Linked DNA regions of Homo sapiens: region 1 is linked to region 2. The links are contacts of gene promoters, found by promoter capture Hi-C in blood cells and fetal thymus (Javierre and others, 2016). All regions are on one chromosome and are shown on one strand. The core of a region is centred on a gene start or on the middle of the fragment in contact, and the rest is flanking DNA. Distances in the headings are between cores, read along the strand shown.

The links. Contacts are between HindIII fragments. The CHiCAGO score rates a contact against its expected background, and 5 or more counts as called.
Region 1: a contact is called between a fragment that was not itself captured here and the fragment with the promoter of KRTAP10-4 in region 2, in 1 of 17 cell types (total CD8 T cells). The highest score is 5.6, in total CD8 T cells.

The regions. Positions count from the first base shown.
Region 1 is chr21:44,737,744-44,742,235 of GRCh38, forward strand. No RefSeq gene overlaps it. Among named protein-coding and RNA genes, the nearest start is that of TSPEAR, 28 kb to the left of the region's middle. The HindIII fragment of the contact is 1,258 bases long and covers 2,174-3,431 here.
Region 2 is chr21:44,571,110-44,575,038 of GRCh38, forward strand. It overlaps KRTAP10-4 (keratin associated protein 10-4), which reads left to right and starts at 2,620. Exons shown (of 1, transcript NM_198687.2): 1 at 2,620-3,929. The coding sequence starts at 2,650. The coding sequence ends at 3,855. The region is part of intron 1 of TSPEAR (thrombospondin type laminin G domain and EAR repeats); the gene reads right to left. RefSeq lists enhancers at 2,835-3,352, 3,353-3,871. The HindIII fragment of the contact is 4,220 bases long and covers 2,104-3,929 here.

The sequences.
Region 1 (4,492 bases), core at 1,553-4,052, 170 kb after region 2:
ATGATTTCCCCCAAATTGTCTCCCCTCTCAGCCCAGCCCTCATCCATTAAACAGGCAGCCTGCTTCTTCTAACAGCCCACTTGAACAGTGGAGTTTGAATCCAAAGATGGAGGAAGAACCTCAGAGCATGGAAGACAAGAGACTCAGCCTGGGCGTGGCAGGGAGGGCTTCCTGAAAGACAGGGTGCATAAGACAGGTTTTGAAGAAGGGGTTTTGGGGTGGAAAAACAAGGGGGACAGGAGTTTCAGGCAGAGAACATGCTGGTGGATGCCAGAGCATCCAAAAAGGAGAGTGCAGGAGATTCTCAATCAAGATATGCTCGCAAAGGAGCCGACATTCACCAGAAAGCTCATTAGAGGCCTTAAGAGCTCACCACAAACTGTCATGAAGGCAGAACCAGAACCAAATGTTTTCTTTGTTTATGAAAGGCAACATGGCTCTTATGCACCTGGTGGAATGTACAAGTCATGTTTATTTGGGGGCAATCTCTCAGTATTTAAAATGGCAATACCTCTGACCCAGTGATTCCTGTTTGGGACTTTTTTTTTATATATACAGATTTACCTCCACATACATATAACAACATGAGAACCAAAATATTATGGCAGTGCTGTTTAAGAACAGAAGATGGAAACAAATTGGCTGTCAATACAGAGGGGACTGAGTAAAGGTTGGGATGCCAATTCAAGGGACACTATGCAGCCACTCAAATGAAGACGATACATCTGGACATTTTCCATGACACAAGATCCCAGATAGATCATTAAGAGAAGCAAAGATGGCAAACAACCATCTTTCGAAGGATGTATGAATCCAGCAGCTGGCAGAAATGGATTGGAGGAAGTCATCATCACTCTATGCAACTCTAAATCATGTTCCCGCATCGCTACTCAAAATACTCAATCTGAGTCAAGGCCTTGGTCTGGCAAGCACCAGCTAATTGGGCTCTCTGTCCTTCCTGCAGAGACCTCTGAGCAGCAGCTGCCTGGTGTCCTCCACAGGGGTCAGCCTCTGACCTGGGAAACCCTGACGAGCCTTACCTTTCCACTCAGCACACATGAAATCAAGAGGAATACACCATGTTTCCAAGCTTTCTCCTGTCCTGGAGCCAGGAGCCCCAAGTCCCCTGAATGGCATAGGCCCCAAGGCCAGCCAGGCAGCTGTTAGCAGGGGAAAGATGAGTGGGTGCTGGACAGGCCAAAACCATATACATCCCCACAGAGGCAGTGGCAATAATCCCAGTGAGAGAGGAGCAAGAAAGGAGGGACAACTATACCAGACTTAAGAGATGCAAGGGGAGTGAATCGATAGCAACCTTAGAAAAAAGGTCTTCAACCAGGGGCTAGCCCCACTCTCTCAAGGGCATGCAGTCCTCAGAGGATCCAGGCCCAAGAGCTTTAAGAGACATATTATTTTCTTGAAATGTAAAGTGAAAAGTTGGCATTAAAAAAGGGATGTTGAGGCCGCAATAGGGTGCTCTGAAGGTAGAGTGGGTACAGTGGCTGTTATCCTTAACTGCTCCTTTTCTAGCCCCTGCACTTGCCAAAAAACACATTTCTCCTGGGGCAGTCCTGTTCAAGCAATGACAATGTAGGAAGAAAGCAAAGATGGCAGTGTAGATCCCAAGTCCATGTAGGAGACACCTGGGACAAGCTTCAGTGTCCCTCCCTCTGTCCATCCACCTGCCCAGCCATCCATTTATGCATCTATTGCTCCTAGACCTAGGGTATCATGTTACCCAAACAGCATGCTGTGAAATGCCGCTCTGCATCCTCTCTGTTCTGGGCCATGAGAGCTCCACTTCTGCCCCTGCACCTCAGCCCCAAGGTCAGTTGTATATTTGTAGCATCTCAAGGAGGAGGAAGTGGGAAGTTTCACATTTCCTTCTGATGGACCAGTAATAAATCTTTAAGGAAAAGGACACACATCAGAACTCCCTCTCCCTCTCTTTCTTCCTCTCCCCCATCTCTCAGAGCCCAGCTGCCATGTAAAAAAGTCCAGGCTATCCTGCTGGACAGGCCATATGGTACAGAACTAAAGCACAAACTGACTGCCAGCCCTGTGAGGAAGCTTTCTTAAAAGTGACACTCCTTTTAAACACTGCAGATGATGCATCCCCAGCCAACATCTAACTGCAACCTCATAAGATGTTCTGAACAAGAACCACCAACTAAGCTTCTAGTCCCTGACTCCTAGAAACTGTGTGGCATAATACATTTGGCTGTTTTAAGCTACTGTTTGGGGACAGTTTGTTACACAGCAGTAGACTGTAGTGCATACTATAAATCCAGAGTCACTTTGCATTTGGACACAAGTCTTTCTTCTTGCTGCCCAGCTGCTATGTTTCCACTTGTCCATTCGGTCCTATCAGTCCTGACTTGACTTAGATCACATGAACAACAACACAATGCCAATTCTAGCTTAAATAAGACATTTAGCACAGTTTTCAAAATACTCATCCTAAGCTCCAGACTTATTAATGGCCAAGACATTATTATCTCTTTGCTTTTTAATTTCTGCAGGGCTCAGTTTCATTCTATCACAAAATGATGACAGATGCAGGAGGCAGGTAAGTGAGGGTCCCCACAGAATCTCCAGCCCACCCCACAAGTGTTTATATCAGATACTTTTGTGTAGATGAGGGAACCTGCCCAGAGTCTTGTCTGCACATGCTTGCAACGGACTGGGGGCCCCCCTGTGCACTGGGAGAATGGGGTGGAGGCATGGGAAGTGCATGCCTTGTGCAGCGGGGAGGAGCCTGGCCTCTTCGGCTTGTATGTGGTGGCCTGGAATTCAATCTGTGAGGTGCGACCCTGTTGGCAGGACCTCATTTTATTTTTGCCAAGAGCTTTCTTTTAATAAATCTCACCTTTCAACATGTCCACGTGCCTAATTTTTTCCTGGTAATGGGACAAGAACCCAGGTTTTAGCTGAGCTAAGGAGTAAAAATCCTGCATCATTTTGGTGGCCCATACAGGGACACGAGCAAAGGTGAGTAAATGCGGACCAAAACATCTTTTTCCCTTTTGTTTTTGAGCCTATTTGTCCTCAGACTTCTTCTGAAGGTAAAGGAAACAGGCCCCCACCCTTGCCACTCCCAGGGGTCAAGAATGTCGGCCTCGGTCCGACCCAGACTTTCTATGGCATTTTCCTTCATTGTTTGGGACAGATGGGCAAGCGGCAACTCCCCGCCCGCCTGGCCTCCCCTCCCAGCTGGGGCTGGGGTGCATAGCTCAAAGGCTGCATGTGGCAGGCTGGCCAGCATTCCCCACCATATGTCCATGGTGTCTCCTCATTCCATGACTGAGGAGTCCAGCTCCATTCAAGCCCTAGGGAAGAAACAGCAGTAAGTTTCTCTCCCTGTTGGAGGAAACTATTTGTATAAGAATAAGAGGTTCTTTCCCAAGGCATCTTTCCAACCCTGCACTTTAAGCTTTTTTTCTTTTCTCCACCAGGTCAGGAGTTAACTTTTAAGTGAGAGGGTTTTTTTCCCCCTTTTAGAAAGCACTTTAGTAGGCCAGAACCCTAGCTATCACTGTTTTTCTCTGTAAAGTTTTAATTATGAAAAAGGATTTGTAGGCCAGCTGCAGTGGCTCACATCTGTAATCCCTGCACTTTGGGAGGTCGAGGTGGGTGGATCACCTAAGGTCAGGAGTTCAAGACCAGCCTGGCCAACATGATGAAATCCTGTCTCTACTAAAAATACAAAAAATTAGCTGGGCATGGTGGTGCGCACCTGTAATCCCAGCTACTCAGGAGGCTGAGGTAGGAAAATCACTTGAACCCAGAAGGCAGAGGTTGCAGTGAGCTAAGATTGCGCCACTGCACTCCAGCCTGGGCAACAAGAGTAAAAAACTAGGAAGGAAGGAAGGAAGGAAGGAAGGAAGGAGGGAAGGAAGGAAGGAAGGAAGGAAGGAAGGAAGGAAGGGGGAGGGAGGGAGGGAAGGAAAGAAGGAAGGAAAGAAAGAAGGAAAGAGAGAAGAGAGAGAAAGATGAGAGAGAGGAGAGACAGAAAGAAAGGAAGGAAGGAAGGAAGGAAGGAAGGAGGAGGGAGGGAGGGAGGGAAGGAAAGAAGGAAGGAAAGAAAGAAGGAAAGAGAGAAGAGAGAGAAAGATGAGAGAGAGGAGAGACAGAAAGAAAGAAAGGAAGGAAGGAAGGAAGGAAGGAAGGAAGGAAGGAAGGAAGGAAGGAAGGAAAGATTTGTGAGTTGGTCTTAAGCTACAGCCAATCTGGTGTGCTCTGCATGTCTTTCTGTATGGTCAGTAGCAAACTTTGCTGCAGGCCTCCATCTTGTTTTATGTCCTTGGGAGCATGACCTGTAGCGACATGGCAGTGCTTTGGTTTAGCCTTCACCATTTTACAATGGCGGCCCAGGTCCAATCCTGGCTTAGGGAATGAGTTCTTTCTGGTTTGATATCTACATGACCTTTGCCATTTGTTGATTCCCTTCCCCTCCACAAACTGCCTTGGATTTTCCTTTCTCTGAACCTTC
Region 2 (3,929 bases), core at 1,370-3,869:
GAAGGCAGTGTTACCAAACCAGGCAAAGGCATTGCAATAAGAGAAAACTACAGACCAACCAAAATCCTCAATAAAATATTAGCAAATACAATCCAGCAACATGTAAAAAGGACAATACGTTGTAGAGATGGGGTCTGGCTATGTTGCCCAGGCTGATCTCAAACTCCTGGCCTTAAATAATCCTCCTGCCTTGGCCTCCCAAAGTGCTGGAATTACAGGCATGAGCCACCACATCCAGCCTAGAGGGGAACATTTCAGACCAGATAACACTAGTCTGGAAAAACCAGCACCAACACGATTCTTAGTGGGGAAACCCCTCCCTCTAAGATCAGGTGGGTGTTAATGCACATGCCAGCCTCCTTGCTCTGTCTCCTGGGAGGGCTGGGAAAGCAACACCCCAGTAGTGTGAGCACACCTTGCTCCAGATTTTGGTTTCTAAATGCCTTCGTCCACCAAGAGGAAGCAGGGCTTCCTAGAGAAGCGTCTGATTCCAGGGATGAAACAGGGCAAATCTGAGATGAACTTGGACCCAAAAGTAAGAAAGGTCAGGGAGGGACAGCGTGTTGAAAGGGCACCAGGGCCAAAACGAAAGGACTTGAGGGCCGAAGTTGGAACCACTGCAACCACAAAATACATAGTGATCATATTGGATTATAGCTCAAGTAATAGATAAACATTCTTTAGTCCACACATAGATAAATAAATAAGGAAGCAAATAGACACACAGAAGAGCGGGACAGCTCCTCCTCCCGGGAGAATTTCAATTAGTAAGTGTGGAAGGAACAAGGCAGGGAGGAGAATCCTCAACAGAGCCCCACAGGGACCGTGCGGGCGAGGCCCCCGGAGGGGCACCAGCACTGCCGGGCAAACGCCTGGGCAGACGCAGGACAGCTGCCAAGTCTCAGACATGACCAATTACAGAGGGAAACGGCGGCACCGCGAGGGATGGGCCGCGGCCGTGTCACCTCCATGCCCCACGCACACTGCTCCTGTGGGATTCCTCCCCCAACGCGATGCCCACTCTGACCACGAGGAAACCTCAAGCAAGTCCACGTGGAGGGGCATTCTACAAAACACCCAACCGGTCAAGGTCGCTGAGGCCAAGGAGAGATTGGGCAACCGTCACAAACCAGAGAAGTCGAGGAGACCTTTCAGCCAACGCCATGTGGGGTCCTGAGCAGGACCCACCGGAAGTTGGTGCAGCTGCCTAAAGACCGTCCTGGCTGAGAAGAAACAGAGCAGCGCTGCTTTCTCAGAGCTGGGAACCAACCTGCGGTGGTGTCGGGAAGCTGGCAAAGGGCGATGTGAACCCCGCTTTTCAGCCACTATTCCCTAAAACCATTCCACGAGGTCAAGCCACACCTCACAAGCAAAGGCTGCTGAGTGCCCAGTGCTGGGCACCTGCTGTCCTGTGCTACCCTCGCCACCCCCCATGCTCCACCTGCCCCAGGCCCAAGTCCACAAGAAACACTTCTGCCGTGCTTGCCTTCCCATCCCGGGTTCTGCTCCCGTGCCCACGTCCTCATCCCAGGTTCTGCCATTGTGTCTGCTTGCTGTGGATTGAATTGTGTCCCTCAAAAGGTGCCGAAGTCCTGACCGCTGGTACATGTGAATGTGACCCTATATGGAAATAGGGTCTTTGTAGGTGATCAAGTTAAGAGGAGGCTGTTAGGATAGGCCCTACTGCAATAATGCTTTGTATCCTTATAAAAAGGGGAGATTTGGACACACACACACACACACACACACACACACACACACACACACACACACACACGGAGAAGCTGTGTGAAGATAAAGGCAGAGCTCAGGTGAGGCCACTGTAAGCCAAGGACCCCAAAGATAGCAGCAGCCCACAGGAGTGAGGGGAGCGGGGTGAGACAGTGCCCCTCGCAGCCTCAGAAGGAACCCATGCTGTCCACTGTCCACACCTCGATCTCAGACTTCTGGCTTCCAAAACCATGAGACACGGAATTTCTGTTGTGTGACCAGCCAGTTTGTGGTACTGTTTGTCATGGCAGCCCAAGGAAAAGAATACATTACAGCATACAAACCATGACTCACATTATCTTTACTTAGAACCCAAACAAACCTCTCTCCCTAAGCTTTCAATCACAGAGGCACATGATCTTGTTCAGCAGCCTAGAAAACCAAGGCCCAGCGGAGCCACCCGTAGGCACCCACTCCCCATAGCCTGGCACACACACACGGCAGAGCCACCCACAGGCACCCACTCCTCATAGTCCAGCACACACACGGCAGAGCCACCCGCAGGCACCCACTCCCCATAGCCCGGCACACACGTGGACCATGCCACCCTCCACGTGCGCCTGGGGAGCAAAGCAGCACAGCCTGAACTGCCCCTCAGCTCTTCCTCCTGAGTCTAAAACACGCACATGCGCCCCAGGCCAATTCCAAGTTTTGTAAACTGAGCAACAGCTCTTGGGAAACAAAAACACAGCTACTGTTTATTCTCCTGGAGCTGGCTGTACACCCCAACAAGGAAGGGAGGGCTTGCTGAGCCTCCTGTCTGGACAACATGCACCAAGGAGGAGTATAAAAGCCCCACAAACCCGAGCACCTCACTCACTCGCTCACCCACTCCCTCCCATCTCCCCCAGCTCAACCCCCAGCACAGCAGCATCCACCATGTCCGTCTGCTCCAGCGACCTGAGCTACAGCAGCCGCGTCTGCCTTCCTGGTTCCTGTGACTCTTGCTCCGACTCCTGGCAGGTGGACGACTGCCCAGAGAGCTGCTGCGAGCCCCCCTGCTGCGCCCCCAGCTGCTGCGCCCCGGCCCCCTGCCTGAGCCTGGTCTGCACCCCAGTGAGCCGTGTGTCCAGCCCCTGCTGCCCAGTGACCTGTGAGCCCAGCCCCTGCCAATCAGGCTGCACCAGCTCCTGCACGCCCTCGTGCTGCCAGCAGTCTAGCTGCCAGCTGGCTTGCTGTGCCTCCTCCCCCTGCCAGCAGGCCTGCTGCGTGCCCGTCTGCTGCAAGACTGTCTGCTGCAAGCCTGTGTGCTGTGTGCCCGTCTGCTGTGGGGATTCTTCATGCTGCCAGCAGTCTAGCTGCCAGTCAGCTTGCTGCACCTCCTCCCCCTGCCAGCAGGCCTGCTGTGTGCCCATCTGCTGCAAGCCTGTCTGCTCTGGGATTTCCTCTTCGTGCTGCCAGCAGTCTAGCTGTGTGAGCTGTGTGTCCAGCCCCTGCTGCCAGGCGGTCTGTGAGCCCAGCCCCTGCCAATCAGGCTGCATCAGCTCCTGCACGCCCTCGTGCTGCCAGCAGTCTAGCTGCCAGCCGGCTTGCTGCACCTCCTCCTCCTGCCAGCAGGCCTGCTGCGTGCCCGTCTGCTGCAAGACTGTCTGCTGCAAGCCTGTGTGCTCTGAGGATTCCTCTTCATGCTGCCAGCAGTCTAGCTGCCAGCCGGCTTGCTGCACCTCCTCTCCCTGCCAGCAGGCTTGCTGTGTGCCTGTCTGCTGCAAGCCTGTGTGCTGCAAGCCTGTCTGCTCTGTGCCCATCTGCTCTGGGGCTTCCTCTCTGTGCTGCCAGCAGTCTAGCTGCCAGCCAGCTTGCTGCACCTCCTCCCAAAGCCAGCAGGGCTGCTGCGTGCCCGTCTGCTGCAAGCCTGTGAGCTGTGTGCCTGTTTGCTCTGGGGCTTCCTCTTCATGCTGCCAGCAATCTAGCTGCCAGCCAGCTTGCTGCACCACCTCCTGCTGCAGACCCTCCTCCTCCGTGTCCCTCCTCTGCCGCCCCGTGTGCAGGCCCGCCTGCTGCGTGCCCGTCCCTTCCTGCTGTGCTCCCACCTCCTCCTGCCAACCCAGCTGCTGCCGCCCAGCCTCCTGCGTGTCCCTCCTCTGACGCCCCGTGTGCTCCCGCCCAGCCTGCTGAGGCCTCCGCTCAGGTCAGAAGCCCAGCTGCTGATGGACACGCCC